Regions from separate parts of the Homo sapiens genome. Here regions 1, 2, 4, 5, 6 and 7 are each linked to region 3. The links are contacts of gene promoters, found by promoter capture Hi-C in blood cells and fetal thymus (Javierre and others, 2016). All regions are on one chromosome and are shown on one strand. The core of a region is centred on a gene start or on the middle of the fragment in contact, and the rest is flanking DNA. Distances in the headings are between cores, read along the strand shown. Region 1 overlaps SERAC1 (serine active site containing 1). Region 2 has its middle 33 kb from the start of GTF2H5. Region 3 holds the start of DYNLT1 (dynein light chain Tctex-type 1). Region 4 has its middle 24 kb from the start of FNDC1. Region 5 overlaps LOC112267968. Region 6 overlaps LOC112267968. Region 7 overlaps GTF2H5 (general transcription factor IIH subunit 5).

Region 1 (2,775 bases), core at 19-2,518, 490 kb before region 3:
ACACATTACTCACGTTTGTGGTGATGCTGTGTAAACAAATCTACTGTGCTGCCCGTCCTATAAAAGTCTAGCTCATACAATTACGTATAGTACATAATACTTGATAATAATAAATGTTACTGATTTATGTATTCACTATAGTATACTTTTATTGCTATTTCAGAGTGTACTCCTTCTACCTACCTGTAAAATGCCTAGGGCAGGTCCATCAGGAGGCATCCAGAAGAAAGTGTTGTTATCACAGGAGATGACAGCTCCATGCATGTCACTGCCCCTGAAGACCTCACAGTGGGACAAGATGCGGAGGTGGAGACAGTGATATGGATGATCCTGACCCTGTGTAGGCCTAGGCTAATGGGTTTGTGTTTCATTTTTAACAAAAACATTTAAAAAGTTAAAAAAAAAAATTTTGCTGGCACAGTAGCAAGGCACGTAGTCTCAGCTATTCGGGAGGCTAAAGCAGAAGGATCCCTTGAGCCCAGGAGTTCAAGCCTGCGGCATGCTATGACTGTACCCACGAGTAGCCGCTGCTCTCCAGCCTGGGCGACAGAGCAAGACCTCGTCTCAAAAAGATTTTTTTTTTTGAGGTGGAGTCTCACTCTGTCACCCAGGTTGAAGTGCAGTGGCACAATCTCGGCTCACCGCAAGCTCTACCTCCTGGGTTCACGCCATTCTCTCACCTCAGCCTCCCAAGTAGCTGGGACTACAGGCGCCTGCCACCACGCCCGGGTAATTTTGTTTTTGTATTTTTAGTAGAGATGGGGTTTCGCCATGTTAGCCAGGATGGTCTCAATCTCCTGACCTTGTGATCCACCCACCTCGGCCTCCCAAAGTGCTGGGATTACAGGCGTGAGCTGCCGCGCCCGGCCTCGAAAATATTTTTTAACAGACAAAAGTTTATAGAATAAAGACATAAAGAAAGAAAATATTTTTGTATAGCTATACAACGTGTTTGTGTTTTAAGCTAAGTGTAATTACAAAAGTCAAAAAGTTTTTCAAAAATTTAAGTTCATAAGTTAAAAAAAAAAAATACAGTAAGCTGAGGTTAATTATTAAAGCCAGGACTTTATTTATATTTAGAGACAGGGTCTCAACCACGTTGCCCAGGCTGGCCTCAAACTTCTGGGGTCATGTCATCCTCCTGCCTCAGCCTCCCGAATAGCTGAGACTACAGGCCCACACCACTACATCCAGCTAGGTTAATTATTGAAGAAAAAAATATTGTTTTATAAATATAGTGTAGCTGGGTGCAGTGGTGCATGCCTGTAGTACCAGCTAGTTAGAAGGCTGAGGCAGGAGGATCACTTGCATCCAGGAGTTCAAGGCCAGCCTAGGCAAAACACAGTGAGACTCTGCCTTTAAAGAAAACACAAAGTTCAGCCAGGCACAGTGGCTCACACCTGTAATCTCAACACTCTGGGAGGCCGAGGCGGGCGGATCACCCGAGGTCAGGAATTCAAGACCGGCCTGGCCAACATGGCAAAACCAAGGCTCTACTAAAAATACAAAACTTAGCCAGGCATGGTGGCGGGCGCCTGTAATCCCAGCTACTCAGGAGGCTGAGACAGGAGAATTGCTTGAACCGAGGAGGCAGAGGTTGTAGTGAGACGAGATCATGCCACTACACTCCAGCCAGGGCGACGGAGCAAGACTCCATCTCCGAAAAAAAAAAAAGTGTAATGTAGCCTAAGTACACAGTGTTGATAAAGTCTATAGTAGTGTGCAGTAATGTCCTAGGCCCTCACTCTCACTCACCCAGAGCAACTCCAGGTCCTGTAAGCTCCACTCATGGTAAGTGCCCTATATAAGTGTACCATTTTAAAATTTTATTTACTGTACCTTTTTTTGTTTGGATACGTTTAGGTACACAAATACTTCCCATTGTGTTATAATAGCCTACCGTGTTCAGCACAGTCACATGGCTGCACAGGTTTGGAGCCTAGGAGCAACAGGCTGTCCCATACAGCCTAGGTGTGGAGTAGGCTCTGCCACCCAGGTCTGTGCAAGTGCACTCTGTGATGATTGCACAACAATGAAATCACCTAACAACACATTACTCAGAATGTATCGCCATTATTGACACATGACTGTATATATACATATACATGTATATACACATTTCGGCTTACAAATAATAAATAGCTGCATAATCATATCCAGGCAAGAAACAGAATGTTAACAGAACCCCAGAAACCCACAATGTGTCCCTCCCGGATAATGATCTGTTCTCATCTCTATATATGATTCTGATTTTTATTATAACAATGTGCTTTTCTTTACAGTTTTACCACCTATATATGCATCCTTAAACAACAGAGCTTAGTTTTGCCTGTTTTTGAAATTCATATCAATGGAATCACACTACATGTATTCTTTTGCTCAGCCTTGTATTTGTGAGTTATCCATGTTGTTGCATGTAAAATGTAGTTCCCGCACTTAGATTTTCGTATAGTATGCAATTATCCATTGCATGGATATACTACAACTTACTTATTCACTCTCCCATAGATGGGTATTGAGAACGTTTCTAGTTTGAGTCTGTTACAACAATGCTGTGACATATCTTATACATCTGTACTGTGCATACAGTACGTGTTCCTCTATCTACACGTACAGGTATCTAGAATTACATACCTTCTGATAGTATACATATTCAATTTTACTAGAGAATGACAAACCGTTTTTGCAAAAAGATTAGCCAATGTGTACTCCCATCATCAGCATATGAAAGCTTTTCCTTTCCTAAGAGCAACACCTGAAGTTAACTTTAAATGT
Region 2 (2,772 bases), core at 37-2,536, 440 kb before region 3:
GTGTCAAAAAACATTTTTTTTTTAGACGGAGTCTTGCTGTCTCCCAGGCTGGAGTGCAGTGGCACGATCTTGGCTCACTGCAAGCTCCGCCTCCCGGGTTCACGCCATTCTCCTGCCTCAGCCTCCCAAGTAGCTGGGACTACAGGCACCCACCACCACACCCGGCTAGTTTTTTGTATTTTTAGTAGAGACGGGGTTTCACCGTGTTAGCCAGGATGGTCTCGATCTCCTTACCTCATGATCCACCCGCCTTGGCCTCCCAAAGTGCTGGGATTACAGGCGTGAGGCACCACGCCCAGCCTCAAAAAAAATTTTAAAAGCTAATGACAATCTTCACTTTTTTAAAGAATATAAAAAGAGTTTTGGCTGGGCGTGGTGGCTCACGCCTGTAATCCCAGCACTTTGGGAGGCCAAGGCAGGCAGATCACGAGGTCAGGAGATCGAGACCATCTTGGCTGACACGGCGAAACCCCGTCTCTACTAAAAATACAAAAAACTAGCCGGGCGTGGTGGCGGGCACCTGTAGTCTCAGCTACTTGGGAGGCTGAGATAGGAGAATGGCATGAACCCGGGAGGCAGAGCTTGCAGTATGCAGAGATCACGCCACTGCACTCCAACCCGGGCAACAGAGCAAGACTGTCTCAAAAAAAAAAAAAAAAAAAAAGAGTTCTACTCCCTATCCCAATGAGATCACACTGCTTTGACACTTGCCTTTTCCCTTAATTTTTCATGCTCCTTTATGAAAAACCTGAAGCAGGATTTCTATTTCAGAGGAAAGTTTTTTTTTCTGATTTTAGATGGGGAGCTTTCTAAAAATGTTGATGCCTGGCCTCAGCCCCCAGTCATTCAAATTTAGTTGTTCTGGGATATGACCCAAGCGTCAGCATCTTTAAAAGGCCTGCCTGGTGCTTCTGCTGTGCATTCAGAGCTGAGAACTCCTGGGCCGGTGTGTGCACAATGGAGACTCTGGGTAGGAGGTTTTGTTTTTGGGTTTCGTTCGGTTTCCAGTAGGCTAATCTACCAGCACAGCTGTTTCCTTTTACTGCCAAGGAAATGCTGAGTCTGCCCAGCAAGGAACCAGCTTTTGTTAAAATTCACTAATTAGATAACTGATTCCCCAAGTCGTTGCAGGATCTTATTTATTGACAGTAGCTAGCTTGAGTTGGATCCTTTGGTTAGACGGAGGAAAGTCATTGCAGCACTCATAATTGGTTAAGTTTTTTTTTTTTAAACATAAATTCACTAAGATATTTTAGTCTTGTGTTTATTTACTGTTTACCATGCTTTTGTGTGTGTGTGTGTGTGTGTGTGTGTGTGTGTGTGTGTGTGTGTGAAACAAACTCTTAAGCTATGTCAGCATATCCTTTCTCAGGCAGAGTCTTTCGGAGGTAGATGTCTAATTCAGTATTAACTGGTTTACCTAGCTCTCATCACTCCTCCGGCTCCCTCAAGCCCTCAGTAACATCTGCACTTACATAAGGTATTTGGATGTGTGACTTATATTTTATTAAATTAAGGACAGAAGTTGAGTTTGACACACAAAAACAGGGAGAGCAGAGGCAGGTCCGTGAGAGATAAACAAACACAACTAATTTAGTGACATGAAGAATTCACAGAAATCTTGGAAGGTTTTGAACTTCTGTGGACATGGAATGGAAGGGTTAGTCTTATGTCAGTTTTATCAAACACATTAAATCTGCCGGGCGCGGTGGCTCATGCCTATAATCCCAGCACTTCGGGGGGCCAAGGCGGGTGGATCACGAGGTCAGGGGTTCGAGACCAGCCTGACCAACATGGTGAAACCCCGTCTCTACTAAAAATACAAAAAAATTAGCTGGGCGTGGTAGCGGGCACCTGTAATCCCAGCTACTCAGGAGGCTGAGGCAGGAGAATTGCTTGAACCCGGGAGGCGGAGGTTGCAGTGAGCCGAGATCGTGCCACTGCACTCCAGCCTGGGCAACAGAGAAAAAAACAAACAAAAAAAAACACATTAAATCAGGTGCTATTTGCAGCTGTAATTTGTAACTATTGCACTTTGGATATGGTAGTAGAAGCTACCATGTCTAAAAGTAAATGTTCTATGAGTGTTTAAACCTCTAACTATGACTATACTGGGCAATTGGTCCAAAAGCCACTCTGAAAATTTTCCAGCATAAAGTTGTTATGGTCTTGACTGAGGCAGATATGCCTTTGAGGGCTTCTTAGTCTATATCAGTGCTTTTCAACTTTAAAGTACTTACAAATCATCTGGAAGTCCTTAGAATGCAGATTCCGATTAAGTGGGTGTGGGCTGGGGCCTGAGATTCTGCATTTCTAGAAGGCTTCCAGGGGATGGCAGTGCTGCTGTCTGGCAGGTCACATTTTGAGTAGCTAAGCTCAAACACCCAAAGTGATGGTGTCATAGAGAAATAGAAGTTAAAGAAAAATGTTTAGGCCGGACGCAGTGGCTCAACCCTGTAATCCCAGCATTTTGGGAGGCCAAGGCAGGGGATCACCCGAGCTCAGGAGCTCAAGACCAGCCTGGGCAACATGGCGAAACCCCATCTCTACTAAAAATACAAAAAATTAGCCAGGCGTTGTGGTGCATGCTTGTAATCCCAGTTACTCAGGAGGCTGAGACAGGAGAATCACTTGAATCTGGGAGGCGGAGATTGCAGTGAGCCGAGATCATGCCACTGCACTCCAGCCTGGGTAACAGAGTGAGACTCTGTCTCCAAAAAACAAAAAAAAAGAAAAAGAAAAATGTTTAATGAGGCAGAGACCATGACCATA
Region 3 (2,760 bases), core at 253-2,752:
TCCAATATTATATTAGTAACAGTTTAAGGGGAAAGGCTTTTTTCTTTGCCAACTGCTCCTGAACCAGCTCTTCTCGTCATTATTCACTTGGTTGCCATCAGCATTCAAACACTGATTATGCCACTGTCACAGGAAGTGTGTGCTAGTTAGGAAATCAGATCAAAACTGAAACTCTAGAATCAGTCCTTAAGTTTTAGTTTTATTTTCCCTGAAAACATTCCTCCTTAAACGAAATTTTTTTCTTTTTTTTTGGTTTTTGAGACGGAGTTTCGCTCTTGTTGCCCAGGCTGGAGTGCAATGGCGCGATCTTGGCTCACGGCAACCTCTGCCTCCCAGGTTCAAGGGATTCTCCTGCCTCGGCCTCCCGAATAGCTGGGATTACAGGCATGCGCCACCACGCCCGGCTAATTTTGTATTTTTAAAAGAGACGGGGTTTCTCCATGTTGGTCAGGCTGCTCTCGAACTCCTGACCTCAGGTGATCCGCCCGCCTAGGCCTCCCAAAGTGCTGGGATTACAGGCGTGAGCCACTGCGCCCAGCCACTAAATTTCATAAATGGTAAGATATCCAACCTTACCAAATGTATCTATAGTTTATATTTTTGACAGGCTGCATAATAAATCCATAGGGCTCTATCTGAATTTCAACAAGGATTATTCAGTAAGAAGAAAATGAGTGTTGTATCTCAGCTGCGCCCATCAGCTCTATTCCCCGAATGACCGTGAGCTTGAAGGAAAGCCATTTAACGCACACGGTGCCGATGGGTGTCTTCTGCTTGGCGACATCGTGGGCTTTATCCTACTTCCTCAAGGAGGCATAAAAGATGATTTTTTCCCCACAACAATGAGCTTTCTTACAGACATATTAAACGGAAATGAAATGTGCTACTCATTCCCAGCGTTGCAGAACCAGGTGAGGCCCGAGACAAAGGCGCGGGATGGCCGGGACGCCAGCCCGGGGCGGAGGGGCTGGCGGCGGGAGCGTCACCCGCACCTCCGCGGGGAGACGTCCAAGCCTCGGCGCTCCCAGCCCGGCCGCCGCGCCCCGCTCCAGGCTGGGGCTGGGGCTGGGGTCAGCCCCGCAGAGCAAGGGGCGGTGATGTCATCCTCTCGGCGAGCTTGGCTGCGGGCCGGAGGCGAGGCCCTGCGGGAAGGTTTCTCGGCACCGCTCACCGGGGCGCTCTCTCCGAGTCACGCCCGGTGCCTCCCCGCGCGGGAAGAAGCTCAATCCCCTTCCCGCCCCCCGCGCCGGGGAAACGGCGGCAATGTCCGGGCAGAATGGGGCCGGGCGGAGCGCCGGCGACCGGGAAGCTCAGGCCGTGGGCTGCCGAGACTGGCCTAGCTGAAGGAGGTGGGCAGCCAGGCCTTTCCGGGCAGGACCGCGTGTCCTTCCGCGGCCAGGGCTCTAGGCCTCCACCCTTCCGTCGCCGACCCGGCGGTTACCTCCTCCGCAGCCTGGTAGTCTTCCATCTTTCCTCCGGCGCGTCCCCTCCGGCTCCCTGAGTGGCGCGGACTGCGCAGGCGCACTCAGGCCCCGCCCCGGACCTGCCACGCCCCTCTCCTCTCGCGCCTGCCTCGCCCATGCCCAGCTCCCGGGCCCCGCCCTTCGCTGCCCGGACCCTCAGTGACCCCATCCCTGGGCGGGGCCCGTGGGTGGACCCTGAATTCGCCTCTCCTCCTGTCCTCTGGGAGGTGGTAGTTTCCATGGGAATCCGTGAGGGTAGCCGGGCAGCTCCCTAAACCTTAGCAACAGAAACAAAACACACGTACAAAAGGCAGTCCTGGAGGGGAAGCGTGGTCCCGGCCCCTCCTCCGGTTTGTACTGTGTGGATTGACGCGGACGTTCAAACCCGCTCGGACACCTGGCAACAAACTCGAAAGTGACTGCTGAAGGCAGTGCGCCCGGTGAGACGTTGTTGCAGTTCCCTTGGGGACTGGGATTGGCATGCTTTAGCTATCTGAACGAAACTTCCCTTTGGGGAGTTAAGTTTTCCAGGTAAATGAGAATTTTTCCTTTAAGCACCATTAAAAAAAAACATTTTGGGTGGAAAATTTTGTAAAATGTGGCACACTTCCTGACTACCTTAACCATAGTGAACTAGACAGACTTTATTTGTATGTGGGTTCTTTATGGAAATTAGGAATTGCACTGGGCTCTGGTAAACTGCCCTCCACGGAAAGCTGGGGCATATGCATCTATTGGCAGGTATTCTGAGGCTCCGAGTTTTGATTTTGGCGTTTGCTTTTTCTGGTTTCGTCATGCACTTGAATTCAGGTTGCTGGAACCCACTTCCCATTCCCCAAGAAAGAGCTGACTGCAAGGGTCCCAGGGATTTGGTAGACCTAAACTTCAAATCCCACATCTAATCCATCAACAACCCTTGTTATTTCTACCCCATATGCTCGGGACCCCAGTTAAAGATTGATATCTCTCATCTGGATTATGACCATCGGACTGTAACCTGGTCGGTCTATCAGGGTCTTATTAGAGCCCTTCAAGAGGAACCTAACCCAACGACTCCTCCCTCCCCTCACCCATTCTGCCCTGCCATAAGTCAATAGTTACTAAGTTGTCAGACTATAGACTAATCTTAGTGATCTTTGGATGACTAAACTTTTAACATATCTTAGCTCAAAATCTCCTACAGAGAGCCATTCTGTGACCACGGCATCTAAGGTAGCCGACCTCCTCATCCTCCACCCCTGCATCCTGTACATTTTCCTCATAGCACTTCTCTCAGTTTGCAAGAACGTATTTATGG
Region 4 (3,092 bases), core at 283-2,782, 500 kb after region 3:
AATGTGCAAGCCACACATGGCTGTTATTTCCTTTCTCCCTCCAAATCTTGCACAATGATCACTTTTGTGGCCACCCTAACTAGAAACTTCCAGCAAGGATGTAGTAGCTGTCCGTTCTCACACTGCTAATAAAGACATACCTGAGACTGGGTAATTTATAAAGAAAAGAGGCTTAATTGACTCATAGTTTTGCATGGCTGGGGAGGCCTCAGGAAACTTACAATCATGGTGAAGGGGAAGCAAACGCTTCCTTCTTCACGTGGCAGTAGGGGAGAGAAAGAGAGCCAAGTGAAGGGGGAAGCCCCTTATAAAACCATCAGAACTCATGAGAACTCACTATCATGAGAATAGTATGGGGGAAACTGCCCCCTTGATTCAATTATCTCCATCTGATCCCGCCCCTGACACATGGGGATTATTGTAATTCAGGATGAGATTTTGGGTGGGGACACAGCCAAACCATATCAAAAGGAATTTTGGGAAGTGTAGTTTATCCTAGTTGTGTTGACATATTACCAAATCGTCACACCCCTGAATAAACGGTTTTTTTTTTTTTTGCCCCAGGATACCTGTAGTTCTTGTAAATCACGTTTTAGGCCTTTCAAAATGTGCTTTCATTTTGTTTTAACAGCATGTCTATTGATGTATTTTGCTGTTGCAGAATATAACTAGTAATAACATTTCATACATGTATTTCCATTTCTTTCTATGTATGCTTTAAAATGGATACATGCATATATGGTTTTATGCCCTTATTTGTAACTTTATACCTTTATATATTTTTCATGTCTTTAAAAATTATGTATAAACTGAATTTTAATAGCTAAATATGTAATCAGATACATGTACTAAATTTTATACTATCATCCCCCCATTATTGGATTTTTAGGTTCTTTTTTTTTTTATTTGAGACAGGGTTTCACTCTGTCACCCAAGCTGGAGTGTGATAGTGTGAGCACAGTTCACCGCAGCCTCAACCTCCCACACTCAAGTGATCCTCCCACCTCAGCCACTGGAATAGCTGGGACTACAGGCACATGCCACCATGCCTAGCTAATTTTTTTGATAAAGATGGGGTTTCATTACATTGCCCAGACTTAATTTTCCACTTTTCAAGTGGTGGAGTGGACATCTTTTTGCATAAATCTGATTATTCCTTAAAATTCACAGAAATTAAATATAGTAAACATCTTAAGTCTCTTGCTACATGTTAATGAATATGTAAAAATTTACTTAAATATTTTGATAGGTTACAATTTATGGTCCCATCAGAAGTACATTTAACTCATACTTTAATTTGGAAAGAATCAATATCTTTATCATATTCGGTCTGAGTATTTTAGAACATAATATATTTCACTGAGGCTCAGAAACTTCCCCTGCCCCCACATTATAACATGTTTGAAATTAGGATTTATTTACAATAGATGATGTTTCATAACTTAATTGGCAGTGTTTTATTTCTTAGTGTTATATACAATAATGGTACATCTTATCATCTATGGCAATTTATATTTGATGAAGAAAGTATCTCTTCATTTAGTTAAGCCCTTTTTTAAAGGTTCTAGATAAAGATCAATAGTTCTCCATTTTAGGTCTCATTAAACAATAAAATTATTCTTAGGTAATGTATGAGTTGATTGCTTTTATAAAGGGAATCTTTTATATTTTAATCTGTAATAGATTATTGTTAATATACATGGGAAAAGCATTAATTTTGTTTATTTACCTTATATTCTTTTTTTGAGATGGGGTCTTGTTCTGTTGTCCAGGCTGAAGTGCAGTGGCACAATCATAGCTCACTGTAGCTTTGAACTCTTGGGCTCAAGCAATCTTCCTGCTTGATCTTCCAATGTGCTGGGATTACAAGCATACACCACCATGGTGCCTGGCTAGTTTTTAAAAAATATATTTTGTAGAGATGGGTCTCACTATGTTGCCCAAGTTGATCTCAAACTTCTGGTCTCAACCAATCCTCCCACCTTAGCCTCCTGAGTTACTGGGATTACAGACGTGAGCTACCAGGTTTGACTCTACCTTATATTCTTATATTCATCTTAAGTCACTGTTCATTTATTTTTCTTTTTAATGACTAAGTCATGGAAAACTTTGGTTTTATTGTTTGGTACAGGTTTGGCTCCACCTAATAATTTGTGAGATTTTGTTTATGCCCAAACATTTTATTGAACACCTCCAAATTGTGGGGAAACTGTTATAGGCTGTGGATACAAAGATGACGAAAATTCTCTTCTTGTCCTCAGGGACTCACAACATAGTAGACTAAAAGACTAGATTATTTTTGTTTCACTAAAATGAAATATGCACTGAATGTATTTGGAATGAAGCCTCTTGAGCAATCTTTGCAGCTGTATGCAGCAGCGGTAATTGCTATAAAGGTGGGCTTTGAAGTACATAAAAATAGCCTTTAGAACATCTGACCCTCCCACTACTTTCTGCACCTTTACTTCTCCTTTGTATTTGAGTTATTACCCTTCAATTACATTTTCCCTCTTTCAAGGAACAACAAACACTGAGTACACCATAACTGATGGTAATTGATATCTCAGGGAACTCTTGCATCTCTAGTAAAATTTTGACTAGTCTTGACTATAAATTTAAACCAAATGAAACCTGACTCTAATGATTTCTTATACTCTGGCTCCAAATATTTAATCTATTTGGGAAATATAGTCCATTTTCTGCTGCTATAACAGAATACCTGAGCTTAAGTAATTTATAATAAACAGAAATTAATTGGCTTACACTTCTGGAGGCTGGGAAGACCAAGATCAAGGTACCAGCATCGGGTGAGGGCCTTTTTGTTGTGTCATTTTAGAAGTTAATCCTTGAATAGTTCATATAAACATGTTATAGAACGTTTAAAAACCTTTCTTCCTATGTTTATTAGTAGCGGTAGAAGTGGGTTTGGTGATCAGTCAGCAATCTCAGCCTGGGGAAGAACAGGGAGAATAGATAATGCATGCTGACGGAATGTGCTGGGTTTCAGGGACCCATGGAATAGCCAGCGCAAATGCGGGACTAGACCAGATAGACAGTAGGTAAAATTATAGGAGTGGAGGCAAATGTCAACT
Region 5 (2,718 bases), core at 115-2,614, 460 kb after region 3:
GTTTTTATGGGAGAGGAAGAAGTGGGGAGTATGAAGACCCCAGGAAAAGAGTTTTTAAAGAGGAGGAGATCCAATTTCACACCTTTGAGTAGTCCAGCTCTGGAATCCAGTACAGGATTTTTGGAAGATTCACCAAGATCCATCTTTCCTTTTCCTGCTATTCTTTCCAAATAGGTAAAGAAGTAGCTGAGGGAAACGCAGCTTTGTGAGGGAAGCCTGGAGCGTGAGAAATCTGCTCACACTGGATTCTGCCTCGGGCTCGACAGAATGTCACAGCAGACCCGCGATGTGACAGGCTCACTGGTGTACACACGGCTGTGTCGGCCATGGCCCTGTCAGGTGGGTCAGGAAGGAAAGGCCCCCCAGTTCATACTTCTGAGTCATCGGTCAGATAGGAATCACGTTCTTTTTTTTTTTTTTTTTTTTTTCACTCACACAGCTACCCTGAAGCTTCAGATCTACTTCCTGGCTCAGACCACCTGCAACACACTGGTTTGGCATCTAGCGGGTTGTGCTTGCAGAACAGCAGGCTGGCTCCGTGCACCTGCTCAGTGGGGCTGGGCTTTAGCAACCTGCATTGAGGCTGCTCTTCTTAACTTTTCTCTAACTTGCTTCATGAAAGTTAATTCTGCTGGGACCCCACGAGGCAGCGGAGAGCCCACTCTGCCCATGATTGGTGCCCTGGGCTGGCACGCAGAGTTTAATGGAGGAGCCCGGGAGAGAGGGATGCCTGAGAACCAGGGATGTGGGCTGGAGCAGTGCCACCTCCTCTAACTCACCCGCAAGCCCAGCCAACCGGCTAAACCTTCCCCACAGAGCCTCAGTCTCCTTATCTGTAAAATGGGTATGCCTTGTGTTTTCCCCTGCGTTTCCTTGCTCCCCTTGGGAATATGACAGTAGTTGAAGTCAGCTTTCTAAGCCTTGTCTTTTATGAAATGTAATGCTTTATTTTCTCGTGAAAAGAAATGAAGCTATCAGAGACCAGGCGGGAGATTTTTTTGAGCGTAGAGTGAAGAGTTGCTCTTCCTTTCCTGCCCTCAAAATGTTCCTACAACCTTGCTCTTTAATGGGAAGTATTTTTTTTTTCAGACATAGTATTAGAGTGATTCTGTATATCTAACACCTTCATCAAACCCTCTGAGAAACTGGGAACTTAGTGACTTGTGCCTGGTTCAGCTGTTTTCTCCAATGGATAATGTGTGCCTAAGGACAGGGACCACATTCTCTTACTCAGTTTTCTATCCCCAGAGCCCACCTAGAACAGAGCGGGGTGCTTTGTAAGTGTGTGCGAAGTTTCTGTTGAATGAACAAATTAGATGATGTCATGTTCCAGGAGGGCGGGAGCTGCATCTGCTCTGCTCTCCCTTTCTCTCCCAGCCCACGGCTGACCGGAGTCGGTGGCTGATAATGTGACTTCTAATGAGTTCATTCACCAAATACTAAATAAGCAAAATTACAAGTGATTTTCTTATTTTGAGACAGGGTCTCCTTCTGTCTCCTAGGCTGGAGTGCAGTGGCGCAATCAAGGCTCACTGCAGCCTCGACCTCCCTGGCTCAAGCGATCCTCCTGTCTCTGCCTCTGGAGTAGTTGGGAGTACAGGCACACGCTAACATGCCAGGCTAATTTTTTTTTTTTTAAATAAATGGAGTTTTGCCATGTTTCCCAGGCTGATTTTGAACTCCTAGGCTCAAGCGATCTGCCCACCTTGGCCTCCCTAAGTGCTAGGATTACCAGTGTCAGCCACTGCGCCCAGCCCACAAGTGAAAATTTTAAACTATATTTTGTTAGAGAGAGAAGAGGGAACCCGAGGCCTGGATAACATGCAAGATCTTCATAAGACTTCATAGCAACAGCATTCACTTGTCATATTTTGATGATCAAATTGGAGAAAATACCTCTTAAATTCAAACCTAGGGGCAAGGTAACATTTCAAATAGGATTTTTTTTTCCCTCTGTCTATAGTGGATATTTAAAATTTTTCCATTCATTCTTGCACACCTACAGATTACCTGGCACTTGTCCAGTCTTTCTGCAGTCAACATCGCCCAGATTCCATGCAGAACCCTTTGCAGACTCCTGAGGAGGTACAGACAAGGAGTGTCCCTGTCCTCATGGTGCTACATGAAAAGGTACAGACAAGGAGTGTCCCTGTCCTCATGGTGCTACATGAAAAGGCAAGTGACCCAACAGGCAGCATTGGAGAAAGTGCCTAACTGTGGAAAGGCCAGTGGGAGAGGCTCGGTGGAGGAGGAACTTGCTGGACTAGAGAGGTCAGGGAAAGCTTCTTGGAGGAAGTGAGGTATGAGCTGGAAGTAGAAATACCAGGAAGCCCAGGGCAGGCTTGGGAATGGGCCAGGCATGCTCAGGTCCCAGGGCATAGAGTAACAATCTGGCTGGAAGAAGGAATGGAGGAACAAGCTGATAGGAGGGTGATTTCATGTGGACTGGACCCCATGTTCAGGAGGTGACCACATAAGCCAGGATGGGTGGATAGAGTTAGCTAATCCTGGAAGAAATCATGGAATAAAATTAAATATATGCATTGCTGGCTACAGATCCAGTTCCTCCTTCCCGGGTCTCTGTGTCCACCCTTCTTGGGGGCCATCCCACACCTCCCTGCTACTGCCACAACCTTTGCCCTTTCTAAGCAGGTGCTGGGTAGAGAAAGAGGTACAGTGGAACTTGCCAAATGTCCTCGCCGTGCAACCTCTTGCAGA
Region 6 (2,700 bases), core at 160-2,659, 440 kb after region 3:
ATAATTCATCTAAGTAAGTTGTCACTTGACAAATGGCAACATACCGTGAGGGAGTATTATAACTCTGGGACTTGGGCAGGCATGCAAGGTGCGATGAAGAAGAGATACCAACTTCACAGAGCTGCTGTTGGCTACTAAATACATCAAGACGTATGAAGCGATAAACCTGGTGCCTGGGCCATAGGAATGATCGACCTTGGTATTAAAATTTGGCATAGGCTAAGTGGAGATGGGTGGTAATGAGGTCATCCTTCATAAGTGTCCAGCGGGGAAGACAAGATTCAGGACAGCCATGGACATTTGGATGTTTATGACACCAGGGAACAAGCCATGATGAGAGCTTTTATACATTTTATCACATGTAAAACGTTTCGTGAATAATTAGGAATAAATATGAATCTTGTTATGTCTGTTTCTATTTTATCAACTTGGATCATTATTAAAGATGTTCTTTTTGCCTGTTTGCCAAATTATTTTGTTTTGAAAACAATTTTATAGCATTGCAATTGTGACAATTTTTTTCAAAATAAGTAACTCATAAAATGAATTTGTTTATTTATTTATTTTTGAGACAAAATATTGCTCTGTTGTCCTGGCTGGAGTGCAGTGGCATGATCTCAGCTCACTGCAACCTCCGCCTCCCGGGTTCAATCCTCAGCCTCCTAAATAGCTGGGATTACAGGCGTGCGCCACCATGCCTGGCTAATTTTCATATTTTTTAGTAGAGATGGGGTTTCACCATGTTGGCCAGGCTGGTCTCGAACTCCTGACCTCAAGTGATCTGCCCGCCTTGGCCTCCCAAAGTGCTGGGATTGCAGGTGTGAGCCACCACACTCAGCTCCATAAAATGAACTTAGATGTACTCAAACTTTCACATCATCTGTAATTACATTAAATAGTGATTGAGAAGAGTTAAAATTTAGTGAATGAATTGAGCTTATGTTTTTTAAAATCTTACTTTAATTTGATATTTTATGTTATACTTACACTAATATTAGCTAATAGTTTACTTAGCTCTGTAATAGCTTTTAGTAGGAAAAGTATTTTGAATGCAAAGGTATGCTGATGTATGTCCCACAGTAAGACACAATTAGACACTGATCGCTCATTATCACCAGTGACCTCTATGATGCCTGATCCAATCCCCAAATCTCAGTGCTCACATTACTTGACTTGGGTATGGGATGTCCATAAGATTCTTTGTCAAATCTGCCTCCTTTTGAGAGCAAAAGGGAGCCTGATAAGTAATAACACCAGGACGAAAGCAGATGTGAGCTGGGACCTTCCTGGGCAAGCCAGTATAAACGACTAACCCTATCCCACAGCAGCATTTGCTGAAGTTGCTCACTCTCTCCTCCTTGATGCACTTTCTTTACTTGGTTCCAAAATGCCACAGTCTCATGATTGTCCTCCCACTCGCAAGCCTCTCATTCTTGGCCTCCTTTGATGATTTCTCCTCTTCTCCCCAACCTTTTAATGTTGAAGTATCCAAGATATGGTCCTTGGTCCCCTTTTCATTTCTCATTACACTCAGGGCTTTAAATATAATCTGTATGTCAATGAGATGGTTTTAAAAAATATGTCCACCAACCCTTGTTGACTGGTTCTAGTGAGTAGATGATGGCAGAAATGATGGGATGTCATTTCCAAGATGAGGTTATAAAACTACTGTGGTTTTTATGTTGGGTACTCTCTCATTCTCTTTCGGCTCACTCATTCTGGGGTAAGCCAGGGGCCATGTGAGGTTCACAGGATGAGGATCTGAGGTTTATTAACAGCCACACAAGTGGGCGTGGAAGTGGATCTTCCAAGACCTGCACCACCTGTGTGAGTGAACTTGGAAGCTGATCCTTCCTCAAACTCGCCTTCAAATGAGGTAATGAGGTCATCCTCATTACCTACTAGACTACCTGTTAGACAGGACTGCAGCCCTGTCTAACACCTTGACTGCAGTTCTAAACCAGAACCACTCAGCTACATGGCTCTCAGAAACCCAACCCACAGAAACTGTGGGTTAATAAATGATCCTTGTTGTAAGCTGCCAAATCTTGGAGCAAACTTGTCCAGCAATAGAAAACTAATATGGGCGACTCCAATATCCAACTGCCTCCCACCATTTTCCTTCAGACGTCTAACAGCATCTCGAGCCCACACGTCCAACACTGAACTGCTGATCTCACAGGTCCAGAACCTGCTTCACTCCACCCTTTCTCATCTCAGTGGACGGCAACTTCATCCTTTATTATATTATAACTCTGTGACTTGGGCAAGCATGCAAGGTGCGATGAAGAAGTGATACCAACTTCACAGAGCTGCTGTTGGCTACTAAATACATCAAGATGTGAATTCCAGGCCAGGGAATTTCAGTCCTCTTTGATTTTTCCCAAAAGGGGAGAAAGCCCCACCTCCAATTTGGCAGGTTGGTCTCACCTTCAAAATGAACTAAGAATCCAGTCCCGTCTTACCGCCTCAGCTGCAGTTTCTCCAGTCTGAGCCACCATCATCCCATGCCTGGATTTTCTGCAGTCATCTTCTAACACTTCCCCTTCTTCCTACCCCTGGCATCTCCCTGAGCCCTACACTATTTTCAGCAAAGCAGCCAGACCGAATCTTTTAACACAGAAGTGAGATCATATTATTACTCTGCTGTCATTTTTTTCAATGGCTTTCCATCTCACTCAGCAAGGAAAACAAGCCAAA
Region 7 (2,851 bases), core at 44-2,543, 460 kb before region 3:
TCAAGGTTTTTAGCTTCCTTGCGATGGGTAGAACATCCTCCTTTAACTCACAGAAGTTTGTTATTACCGACCTTCTGAAGCCAACTTCTGTCATCTCGTCAAACTCATTCTCCATCCAGTTTTCTTCCCTTGCTGGTGAGGAGTTGTGTTCCTTTGGAAGAGAAGAGGTGTTCTGGTTTTTGGAATTTTCAGCCTTTCTGCTCTGGTTTCTCCCCATCTCTGTGGTTTTATCTATCTTTGGTCTTTGATGTTGGTGACCTATGGATGGGGTTTTGGTGTGGATGTCCTTTTTGGTGATGTTGATGCTACTCCTTTCTGTTTGTTAGTTTTCCTTCTAACAGACAGGACCCTCAGCTGCAGGTCTGTTGGAGTTTGCTGGAGGTCCACTCCAGACCCTGTTTGCCTGGGTATCACCAGTGGAGGCTGCAGAACAGTAAATATTGCTGCCTGATCCTTCCTCTGGAAGCTTCATCGTAGAGGGGCACCTGCCTGTATGAGGTGTCTGTCAGCCCCTACTGGGAGGTGTCTCCCAGTCAGGCTACATGGGGGTCAGGGACCCATTTGAAGAGGCAGTCTATCCATTATCGGAGCTCAAATGCCATGCTGGGAGAACCACTGCTCTCTTCAGAGCTGTCAGGCAGGGACGTTTAAGTCTGGAGAAGCTGTGTGCTGCCTTTTGTTCAGATATGTCCTGCCTTCAGAGGTGGAATCTAGAGAGGCAGTAGGCCTTGCTGAGCTGCAGTGGACTCTGCCCAATTTGAGCTTCCCTGCTGCTTTGTTTACACTGTGAGCATGGAACCGCCTACTCAAGCCTCAGCAATGGCGGTCACCCCTCCCCCCACCAAGCTCCGGTGTCCCAAGTCAATCTCAGACGCTGCGCTAGCAGCAAGCAAGGCTCCGTGGGCGTGGGACCCACCGAGCCAGGCACAGGAGGGGATCTCCTGGTCCGCTTGTTGCGAAGACAGTGGGAAAAGTGCAGCATTTGGGCTGGAGTGTATTGCTCCTCCAGGTATAGTCACTCATAGCTTCCCTTGGCTAGGAAAGGGAAATCCCCTGACCCCTTGCACTTCCTGGGTGAGGCGACACCCTGCCCTGCTTCGGCTCGCCCTCCATGGGCTGCACCCACTGTCCAACCAGTCCCAATGAGATGAACCAGGTACCTCAGTTGGAAATGCAGAAATCACCTGTCTTCTGTGTCGATCTTGCTGGGAGCTGTACACCAGAGCTGTTCCTATTTGGCCATCTTGGAAGTGACTCAGTTGTTCAGCTTTATTTTCCAAGGTGGGACACTCCACAACCTTGGTTTGATACTTAGATTTCCTAAGTAAAAGGCATGGTTACACATGAGAGCACAGAAGAATGGCTATTTTCTTTGTATAATTAAAGCCTTGGGGTTAGCGGGTACATCACCAGCAAGGTAGTGATTTGGGTTTTCTGATCAGTGGGACAAGAAAAGGAAAAAAAAAAGGAAAAACATGTGAAGGAGGAGCCGCATCGAATTCCTGTTCTCATTTCTAGTTAGAAGCCTGAGAAGTTGAGAGGTTGAGTAACTTTATACATTATACATATTTTGGTTGGCAGAGCTGGGGTCTGGGGCTAGGCTTTCTGGGTCCAGTACTCTCTTTAGACTTTTGTGTCTTTGTAACAGTAAAACCCCTATTATATGTTTTCTTGGGAAAATGGTAGCTGTGTTTCTGGTTAACTTAATGTCTCCTATGGTGTCTCTTCTCTTAAGACCCTACTCATGTACCAAATTGTTATTGAGCACCTATAATGTTCTGGGCTCTAATCTAGACACCCATATCTCAGATTGAACAAAACCCAGACTCAGAAAACACTTTGGAAAATGCTTTTAAAGGGGAAATAAACCTAAGACAGTCTACTCCCAGGATATATGGAATTTATGGAGTAATACTTAAAAATTTTTTAAGTAATATCTGTTGGCCAGTTATTATCAAGAAAGATAGTTTACCATTGACTAAGCCAAGATTGTTCTGATGGATTGTCAGTGCTGACAGCTTTGACCAGACTATTTTACAGCTCACTGCATCATCCTGGTTACCATTATACCATTATCATGCTATAATCCTTTTCAGAGTCATACTTTATAGGAGCTATACTAAGCTTCTTTAGGAGAAGGTTTCATGATATCTGCCCTTCACACTTCCAGGGCAAAGTTGTTTCTTTTCTGTACAATAGCCTTGATCCTGGGACTTCAAGTATGTATATATGCTCTTGGCTTTGGGTTTTGTTTTTTTTTCTGCTACTCTCAATATAGAAGTGGAATGGCTCTGTGTTCAGATAGGAATATTCCAGGCTCTTTGTGTTTCATGACAAAATGTCCCTTAAACTTTGAGTGTCTTTTTTTTTTTTTTAATAATTAAAGAGTCTTTTTAAATCATTACATGTTATCTTTACTTCAGGTACATGCTTGAAAATTCAATCTCAAATTGTCTTTCAAAAGTTTGAGGCATGCCAGACACGGTGGCACACGCCTGTAATCCCAACACTGGGAAGCCGAGGCTGGAGGATCGCCCAAGCCCAGGAGTTCAAGACCAGCCTGAGCAATGTGGTGAAACCCCATTTCTACAAAAAATACAAAAATTAGCCAGGCATGGTGGCGTGCGCCTGTAGACCCAGTTAGTCAGGAGGCTGAGGTGGGAGGATTACCTCATCCCTAGGAGGTTGAGGCTGCAGTGAATTGGGATTGTGCCACTGCACTCCAGCCTAGGCAACAGAGTGAGGCCCTGTCTCAAAAAAAAAAAAAAAAAAAGTTTGAAGCGATTGATATTAAAGCGTTATTTCAGTGTTCACTGGCCAGTCATTCCTCTAAGCTGTCTCATTTGTCAGT

What was found. The method cuts DNA at HindIII sites, captures the fragments that hold promoters and counts their contacts. A CHiCAGO score of 5 or more calls a contact.
Region 1: a contact is called between a fragment that was not itself captured here and the fragment with the promoter of DYNLT1 in region 3, in 1 of 17 cell types (M2 macrophages). The highest score is 7.0, in M2 macrophages.
Region 2: a contact is called between a fragment that was not itself captured here and the fragment with the promoter of DYNLT1 in region 3, in 11 of 17 cell types (megakaryocytes, M2 macrophages, naive B cells and 8 more). The highest score is 13.5, in megakaryocytes.
Region 4: a fragment that was not itself captured here is called in contact with the fragment with the promoter of DYNLT1 in region 3 in 2 of 17 cell types (neutrophils and total B cells); the score reaches 5.9 in neutrophils.
Region 5: a fragment that was not itself captured here is called in contact with the fragment with the promoter of DYNLT1 in region 3 in 9 of 17 cell types (neutrophils, non-activated CD4 T cells, activated CD4 T cells and 6 more); the score reaches 11.5 in neutrophils.
Region 6: a contact is called between a fragment that was not itself captured here and the fragment with the promoter of DYNLT1 in region 3, in 3 of 17 cell types (neutrophils, fetal thymus and total CD8 T cells). The highest score is 9.1, in neutrophils.
Region 7: a contact is called between a fragment that was not itself captured here and the fragment with the promoter of DYNLT1 in region 3, in 1 of 17 cell types (M2 macrophages). The highest score is 5.9, in M2 macrophages.

The regions. Positions count from the first base shown.
Region 1 is chr6:158,150,856-158,153,630 of GRCh38, forward strand. The region is part of intron 3 of SERAC1 (serine active site containing 1); the gene reads right to left. Among named protein-coding and RNA genes, the nearest start is that of SERAC1, 16 kb to the right of the region's middle. The HindIII fragment of the contact is 2,922 bases long and covers 1-2,729 here.
Region 2 is chr6:158,200,079-158,202,850 of GRCh38, forward strand. No RefSeq gene overlaps it. Among named protein-coding and RNA genes, the nearest start is that of GTF2H5, 33 kb to the left of the region's middle. The HindIII fragment of the contact is 7,369 bases long and covers 1-2,772 here.
Region 3 is chr6:158,643,241-158,646,000 of GRCh38, forward strand. It overlaps DYNLT1 (dynein light chain Tctex-type 1), which reads right to left and starts at 1,503. Exons shown (of 5, transcript NM_006519.4): 1 at 1,442-1,503. The coding sequence starts at 1,468. It also overlaps a transcript of SYTL3 not described here. RefSeq lists an enhancer at 874-1,817 and silencers at 941-1,270, 1,431-1,660. The HindIII fragment of the contact is 7,871 bases long and covers 1-2,760 here.
Region 4 is chr6:159,143,787-159,146,878 of GRCh38, forward strand. No RefSeq gene overlaps it. Among named protein-coding and RNA genes, the nearest start is that of FNDC1, 24 kb to the right of the region's middle. The HindIII fragment of the contact is 5,231 bases long and covers 1-3,092 here.
Region 5 is chr6:159,107,310-159,110,027 of GRCh38, forward strand. All of the region lies in intron 1 of LOC112267968, which reads right to left. LOC124901449 reads left to right here. Exons shown (of 5, transcript XR_007059837.1): 1 at 1-339; 2 at 440-844; 3 at 2,006-2,718. Among named protein-coding and RNA genes, the nearest start is that of FNDC1, 61 kb to the right of the region's middle. RefSeq lists a silencer at 471-540. The HindIII fragment of the contact is 1,832 bases long and covers 449-2,280 here.
Region 6 is chr6:159,088,305-159,091,004 of GRCh38, forward strand. The region is part of intron 3 of LOC112267968; the gene reads right to left. Among named protein-coding and RNA genes, the nearest start is that of TAGAP, 45 kb to the left of the region's middle. The HindIII fragment of the contact is 5,565 bases long and covers 1-2,700 here.
Region 7 is chr6:158,182,787-158,185,637 of GRCh38, forward strand. All of the region lies in intron 2 of GTF2H5 (general transcription factor IIH subunit 5), which reads left to right. Among named protein-coding and RNA genes, the nearest start is that of GTF2H5, 16 kb to the left of the region's middle. RefSeq lists enhancers at 418-922, 923-1,425. The HindIII fragment of the contact is 1,658 bases long and covers 465-2,122 here.